Regions from separate parts of the Homo sapiens genome. Here region 1 is linked to region 2. Evidence: promoter capture Hi-C in 16 types of primary human blood cells and fetal thymus (Javierre and others, 2016). All regions are on one chromosome and are shown on one strand. Each heading gives the region's core, a stretch centred on a gene start or on the middle of the fragment in contact. The rest is flanking DNA. Distances are from core to core; before and after follow the strand shown. Region 1 overlaps ANKRD17-DT (ANKRD17 divergent transcript). Region 2 holds the start of RASSF6 (Ras association domain family member 6).

Evidence for each region. Contacts are between HindIII fragments. The CHiCAGO score rates a contact against its expected background, and 5 or more counts as called.
Region 1: a contact is called between a fragment that was not itself captured here and the fragment with the promoter of RASSF6 in region 2, in 1 of 17 cell types (megakaryocytes). The highest score is 5.9, in megakaryocytes.

The regions. Positions count from the first base shown.
Region 1 is chr4:73,336,121-73,340,475 of GRCh38, forward strand. The region is part of intron 3 of ANKRD17-DT (ANKRD17 divergent transcript); the gene reads left to right. Among named protein-coding and RNA genes, the nearest start is that of ALB, 66 kb to the right of the region's middle. RefSeq lists enhancers at 2,966-3,467, 3,468-3,967. The HindIII fragment of the contact is 6,759 bases long and covers 1-4,355 here.
Region 2 is chr4:73,618,584-73,622,667 of GRCh38, forward strand. RASSF6 (Ras association domain family member 6) reads right to left here and starts at 1,853. Exons shown (of 11, transcript NM_177532.5): 1 at 1,705-1,853. RefSeq lists enhancers at 1,327-1,876, 1,877-2,425. The HindIII fragment of the contact is 3,198 bases long and covers 1,518-4,084 here.

The sequences.
Region 1 (4,355 bases), core at 726-3,225, 280 kb before region 2:
GTTAGTATATGAAGTCATCAATAATTGAATTCATCAATAAAATTTTAAAAGTAATAATTTCCAATTAAAATTTCGTCTAAAATTCATAAACATATAAGTAATATATATAGACATTATAGAAATAAATTGTAAAGCAACTTTAAAATAAAACATAAGAATAAAATTTATGTTGAAGAAATTGACCTAAATATGTATGCACAACATTCCTTGAAATTTTTGCCTTGACAGTAACAAATGCTGTCGAAGAGGTGAAGAAAAGGAAACCCTTGTACACTATTGGTGGGAATGTAAATTAGTACAACCACTATGGAAAACAGTTTGAAGGTTCCTCAAAAAACCAAAAATTGAGCTACCATATGATCCAGAAATCCCACTGCTGGGTATATACCCAAAAGAAAGGAAAACAGTATATCGAAGAGATATCTGCACTCCCATATTTGTTGCAGCACTGTTCACAATAGCCCAAATTTAAAAGCAATGTAAGTGTCCATCAACAGATGAATGGATAAAGTGTGGTGCTTATACACAATGGAGTACTACTGAGTCATAAAAAGAATGGGATCCTGTCATTTGCCACAACATGGATGGAACTGGAGGTCATTATGCCAAGTGAAATAAGCCAGGCACAGAAAAGACAAACTTCACATGTTCTGATTTATTTGTGGGATCTAAGAATCAAAACAATTGAATTCACGGACATAGAGAGTAGAAGGATGGTTACCAGAGGCTGGGAAAAGTAGTGGGGGGCTGGGGACAATGGTTAATGGGTACAGAAAAAATAGAAAGAGTTAGACCTAGTAATCGATAGCACAATAGGGTCACTTTTTATAGTCAATAATAACTCGATAGTACATTAAAAATAATAAAAAGAATATAATTGGATTGTTTATAACACAAAGGATAAATTCTTGAGGGGATGGATACCCCATTTTACATGATGTGATTATTAAACATTGCATGCCTGCATTAAAACATCTCATGTACCCCATAATTGTATACACTTACTATGTACCCACAAAAATTAAAATTAAATATTAAAAAGAAATTTCTGCCTTGAATTACTGAATGGTTCTTCTAAGTAAAAATGGATATTTTTCAAAAGAAATTAATTATTACAATATTGCATGCCTACCCCCAAATGGCAATATTCCTTGGCAATTCTTAATTTCCAAAGATAAATTCAAGAGTAGGGCTTCTCCAGAAGTAATGTTTTGACTATATATTGCTTTTTGTCATTTTAAGCCTGGTTAAAGAAGCTAAAAAGTGTCTAAGTTTATCCATACTTCATTTATGGCACAAGAACATTGATTCATTTTTCTCTCTGCTCACTGTAGCAAAGAGAACCTGAAAGTAAGTTCTCTTTGCCTATGGCAGTGACTTATTCCCATGAACTTATGTCTTTAATATCATCAAGGTAATCTTTGCAGCAGTTTTACTACTTTATATGCTTTTCTTTTGTTTGTTCACTAACTTTCTTGTTTTTGAAACCAATTATGTCTTAAATATGTTTCTGAGGAGCAGCTACATGAGGCTTTAGAGACTTGCAGTTTTCATATTTATGTCTGACCTAAGATTTTGTCTCGGCATCATCACATGCCCCTGTGCTTCTGTGTGCAAAGTAAAATATTCCTGAATGACCATCACAAGTAAATTTATTATGGTTTTTAAAGATATAATTCACATGCCATATGATTCACCCACTTAAAGTGTACAATTCAAGGGTTTTTAGTATATTCACAGAGTTATGCATCCATCAACACAATTTTAGTACATTGTCATTACCCCCTCCAAAAAACCCACATTCCCTAGCCATCACCCTACAATCTCCTTTTCCTCTCCAGCATCAGGCAACTGCCAATCTACTTTCTGTAATTTTCCCACTCTTGAAAATTCATATAAATGAAATCATGGAATATGTGGTCCTTTGTGATAGGTTTTTCACTTAACGTGTTTTCAAGGTTTATGCATGTAGTGGCATGTATCATTACTTCATTTCTTTTTATTATTAAACAATATTTCATTGTATAAATATACTACATTTTGTTTATCCGTTCATCAATTGATGGACATTTGGGTGGTTTCTCTTTTATGCTATTATGAATACTGCTGCTATGAACATTTGTGTGTGCGTTTTTGTGTAGATACGTTTTTATTTTTCTTGGGTATATACCTAGGAGTGGAATTGCTGGATCATGTGGTAACTCTGTTTAACCCTTTGAGAAACTGTCAGACTATTTTCCAAAGTGGCTACCACCATTTTACAGTCCCATGAGCAATATATGAGAATTTGAATATCTCCACATTCTTGCTAACATTTGTTATTGTCTATCTTTTTTCAGGTAGTCATCTTATTGGGTGTGAAATGACATCTGGTGGTTTTGATTTTCATTTCCCTGGTGGCTAATAATGTTGATCATCTTTTCAAGTGCTTATTGACCATTTGTATATCCTTTTTGGAGAACTATCTATTCACTTCCTTTGCCCATTTTTAAATTGGGCTATTGTATTAGTCCATTTTCATGCTGCTGATAAAGACATACCTGAGACTGGGAAGAAAAAGAGGTTTAATTAGGAACTTACAGTTCCACATGGCTGGGGAGGCCTCAGAATCATGGCGAGGGATAAAAGGCACTTCTTACATGGTGGCGGCAAGAGAAAAATGACAAAGATGTAAAAGGGGAAATCCTGATAAAACCATCAGATCTCATGAGACTTATTAACCTACCACAAGAACAGTATGGGAGAAACTGCCCCCATGATTCAAATTATCTTCCACTGGGTCCCTCTCACCGCATGTGGGAATTATGGGATTACAATTCAAGATGAGATTTGGGTGGGGACACAGAGCCAAACCATATCATTCCACCCCTGGCCCCTCCAAATCTCATGTCCTCACATTTCAAAACTAATCACGCCTTCCCAACAGTCCCCCAAAGTCTTAACTCATTTTAGCATTAACCCAGAAGTCCACAGTAAAAAGTCTCATCTGAGACAAGACAAGTCCCTTCTGCCTATGAGCCTGTAAAATCAAAAGCAAGCTAGTTACTTCCTAGATACAATGGGGGTACAGGTATTGGGTAAATACAGTTGTTCCAAATGGGAGAAATTGGCCAAAACAAAACAGTTACAGGGCCCATGCAAGTCCAAAATCCAGTGGGGCAGTCAAATTTTAAAGCTCCAAAATAATCTCCTTTGACTCCAGGTCTCACATCCAGGTCACACTGATGCAAGAGGGCCCAACCCCACGCAGAGAGCCAACCCCACATTTCCCTTCTGCACTGTCCTAGCAGAGGTTCTCCATGAGAGCCCTGTCCCTGCAGCAAACTTCTGCCTGGCCATTCAGGCATTCCCATACATCTTCTGAAATCTAGGCGGAGGTTCCCAAACCCCAATTCTTGACTTCTGTGAACCTGCAGGCTCAGCAGCATGTGGAGGCTGCTAATGCTTGGGGCTTGCACCCTCTGAAGACATGGCTCGAGCTCTGTGTTGGCCATTTCAGCCATGACTGGAGCAGCTGGGACGCAGGGCACCAAGTCCCTAGACTACACGTAGCACAGGGACCCTGGGCCCTGCCCATGAAACCATTTTTTTCCTCCTAAACCTCCAGGTCTGTGATGGGAGAAGCTCCTGCAAAGGTCTCTGACATGCCCTGGAGACATTCTCCCCATTGTCTTGGAGATTAATATTTGGCTTCTCGTTACTTATGCAAATTTCTGCAGCTGGCTTGAATTTCTCCTCAGAAAATGAGATTTTCTTTTCTATTGCATTGTTAGGCTGCAAATTTTTCAAACTTTTAAGCTCTGTTTCCCTTTTAAAACTGAATGCTTCTAACAGCATCCAAGTCATCTGTAGAATGCTATGCTGCTTAGAAATTTATTCTGCAAGATACTCTAAATCATCTGTCTCAAGTTCAAAGTCCCACAAATCTCTAGGGCAGGGGCAAAATTCCGCCAGTCTCTTTGCTAAAACCTAACGAGAGTCACTTTTGCTCCAGTTTCCAATAAGTTCCTCATCTCCATCTGCAACCAACTCAGCCTGGACCTTACTGTTCATATCATCATCAGCATTTTTGTCAAAGCCATTCAACAAATCTCTAGGAGTTTCAAACTTTCCCACACTTTTCTGTCTTCTGAGTCCTCCAAACTGTTCCAGCCTCTGCCTGTTACCCAGTTCCAAGGGAGTTCTCTGACCCCTTGCACTTCCCAGGTGAGGCGACGGCCCACCCTGCTTCAGCTCGCCCTCCGTGGGCTGCACCCACTGTTTAACTAGTCCCAATGAGATGAGCTGGGTACCTCAGTTGGAAATGCAGAAATCACCCACTTTCTGCATTGATCTTTCTGGGAGCTGCAGACTGG
Region 2 (4,084 bases), core at 603-3,102:
TTCCTTTATAAGTTTTTAGCTAAACTGTACTAAACACAATCAGACCCCAGAGGGAAATAACATAGTAAACTTCAGTTAGGTTGGGTTTAGAATTCTATCCACAATTCTCCAGTCAATATCTAATTGTAAGCACACTGAAGAATTTCAACTCTGCAATTTGAAAAAAGAATCCATTAAAACACCAATGATATTAAGTTAGAGTATACTGCAAACTCTTTGACTGCTTTATTTAATAAAATAACAAGATAAAAATGAAGTCAATGGAAATTACTAGTCATAGACACTAAGTTGGTCCCCTCAAGAAAATTAGCAACATTAATAACTAACAACATTGACAAAAGTGCCCTTTAAGTGAAACTTCATAAAATAAAGCCACTTTCCTGTAATTTAAGCTTAAGAGGTAGAGACTGACAAAATACAAGTATTATTCCTTCATGTCTCTTGTCCATCAACACAAATTAAAAACAGCACTTCAATACAAACAATTCAATATGTGCTGAAATATAAAGACATGGATTATATGGTCTAAATTGATGAAAGTTATTCAAAAGCAGTCTCCTTTATAAAACCCAAATGGCATGAATTCCACAATATGAGATTGTGTGTAACTCTCTTACTCTAAAATTCTATTTTCTTTTTAGGAATAACAGATTAATGTAAATGTGAATTTTTCAAAAGAAAACTGATTGAGTAGCAAATATGTCTGAATTTGCCACCACATACTCTATCTGAAAAATGGAAAGAAGCCAGGTCATTTCGTTGCTACCCAGAGAGATGATCCTAGCACACCTGTCACCTGCTTGCCTGTCCTGGATCCAGTCTCCGGGAACCAGTTCAATTCCAGCATCCTAATACACACTGTCTGGTCTCCCTAGTTCAGCTTGCCCTCCCTGATAACGGCCCCTTTGGCAGAGCAGCTTATTCTTAATGCTAACAGTAGGTATCACTTACAGAACACTTGCTGACTGTTCAGTTCCCATCAAAGAAAGCCTTATGTGGCAGATCCTTTGATGATGCTTGTTTTACAGACAAACGTTTGGGGCTTAGGTTAAGAAACTTGAGAGGGGGCAAACTAATAAGTGGCAAAGCCGAGCTTTGAACCTACCACTCTTCTGCTTCAGAATTCATATCCTTAACTCATGCACTCCCATTTAATTATTTATGTTTATTATTTCATTGTTTGGTGAGCGCTTATATTGAAAATTCATTTTTTTTTTGGTGGGGGGCATGCTTTCTGTCACTTTGCAGAAACAAATAAAAGTTGAGCTGAACCCTCAATTAAGTTCTTTCCAGTGCGATGATTCAACACAATATTCTAACCATAAGGATACTCAGAGGAAGGAGTATGCCATCCAGAAGTCTAGTATCTTTGTAAGGCACGATTTTTGCCAGGCACAATTACAGGTGAAGGGCTCATTGAACTAAAGGGAGGAGGGGTCCTATGGTCACATTTACCTCCAAGCCCTTCTCTGCACCCTTTCCCTCCCTTCTTTCCCCTCTCTCCCTCCCACCCTACAAGCTTACCTTGGTTAGGAAAGCATATTCTGAGAAAATCAAAAGGAAAAGGCATGTGTGCGATTCAGGCTGCTATGACACACACACACTTAACTTTGTTGCCTATGGATTCTGCTTTCTAATAACTTGCCCTCAACATGACCCCAGGGAGTGGATTAGAAAGTTTTTTTCCCCATCCCCATTTTTTACCTGTTATTCACACTGTGAGCAGGAGGACCCTTTTCACCATCGTTGTTCGGCTGAACTTGCTTCGCGGTTTGTTCTCGGCTGGGTCAGGAACTCTGGTAGAGGGAAACCAGTGCCCTGTCTCTGCCGGGCTGGGACTCCGCGAGTCACTCACCTGTAGGGGAGGTCCGAGGCCCGCGCGGGCGCAGGGGCGGCGCCTGTCTCCTCCCAGAGCATGGCTCAGCTGGGCGCTTGCAGTGCCCCCGACGCGATCAGCGATCCTGGAGCCCCAGGAGCTGTTAATTATTTCTCCTTTTCGCCACAGCAGGGAAGTGTCAAGAAACCTGAGCCACTCCCTGTGCCTCAGTGCATGTTGGGAGTGTTTACTTTCTTAGGAACAGCTGATAGGTACACTCCTTTGCTCTCTGCCACACTTCTTGAGAAATGAATGGACATTCTAGTTAACGCTTTAACCACGGGATTTGACTGATGTTAATCTCTATTCTCTAGTCCACCCAGACTGTAGGTAATTGGCCTGTGAGAAATGACACCAACCAAGACTGAACGCCATTATTCACGTCTTTCTTTTTAAGATTTTTCTTTTCCAATTTGAGATTTGTTAACTTTCTTTTCCTTGTTATTTTGCTAACACATTTCCCTGCTAGCACTTTTTTTCACCCAGAGCAGCGTTTCGCGCTTCAGGGTGCACCAGGACCACCTATGTATTCTGCTAAACCCAGGTACCATCAACTGTGAGACTCTGATTTAGTAGGCCATGCATACACTTCGGGTATTTATATTTTTTATAAGCTCCACAGAAGAAACTGGTAGACATCAAAGTTTGAAAATGAACATAATGAAACAAAACAGAGGAGATAAATAATAATTTAGTCATTATCTACTGAATTGGATTTGGGGGCTTTGTTTTATCCAATATCTCCAATTTCAAAAGGACACCAAAAAGGCTTAGAAACTGTTAAATGACAGATGCTGTGGAAATATGAAGTACATTTACACACACACACACACACACACACACACAGATTTTTAAGGATCATTGTTATTTTACTGGTTTCCTATGTAAAGCAACTATTCATAATTTTTAAACATAATAGGTTATTTTACAAGTGTAAACCTGAGAGCCCTCAAAAGAAATTCAATCTGATTCCTGCAAAAAGTTCAGCAGGCAGAGTTAATTTCTAGTATCTTTCGTGTTCAAACGCCAGACAAACAGAATGACTCTAGATGTTCAGGTTGCATGTTTGTCATAGCACTTTAAGTAAGATCCTATATGTTCAAAAGGTGAGGCAGGCCAGGTGCAGTGACTCACGCCTGTAATCTCAGCACTTTGGGAGACCAAGGCTGGTGGATCACTTGAGCCCAGGAGTTCAAGACCAGCCTGGACAACATGGCAAAACCCTGTCTCTGCAAAAAAAAAAAAAAAAATTAGCCCGGCATTGTGGGGCATGCCTATAGTCCCAGCTACTCGGGAGGCTGAGGTGGGAGGATCACTTGAGCCTGGGAAGTCGAGGCTGCAGAGAGCCAAGATTGCACCACTGCACTCCAGCCTGATTCAAAAAAAAAAAAGAAAAAATATTAGGCAGTTTATCTATTTAATCTGTGGTGTGCGGAGACCAGGAACTATCAGATTTATCATTATTTGAGCAAATGGTTTTATTGGATCACAATCAAAGATTTTACAATCTTATGTAAGGACAGATGTGACTTAGTATTACTTGCAGATATTAATTCGATCATCATGTTGGCTCCATAACTCTCTGGTATGTGGCTGCTGGTATGGACTGACCTTTGAATGATGACTAGCAGGACCTAGAGTAGTTACAGCTCTCGGTTCCAGGATATCTTGCTCAAATCCATGCTCCACCTCCATTGTCTGTGCTTGAAGTGGGTCATTTGCTTATTGTCAGCATCAGGGCAACATTCTTTTGCATCTTTTACCTGCAAGCATTGGATTTGGGGGCTTTGTTTTTTGCCAATATCTCCAATTTCAAAAGGACTCCAAAAAGGCTTAGAAACTGTTAAATGGCAGATGCTGTGGAAACTTTTACTCTGATGACTGCTTTCCAACTGGTTTTCTAAAGAAAAGTAAAGTTAGAGGCTTAGTGACTTCGTTTTTTAGTGTTTTATCTGTTTGTAAATATGTAATTTTTATTTGATAATATAAAAAGTATATAATTGCACATATGCAATGTGGAAAATCTGAAAAACACAGAAATGTAGAGGACAAAAAGCACCTATAATTCCATCTCTCAAGTATAATCATCATAAACAATTTGTTGAATGTCTTTATTGACTTATTTTCCCTGTGGCTGTTTATCAAAATGCTATTACATTTGGTTTGTTGGTTTATAGCCTGCTTTCATCACATCAAACGTAGTATGAA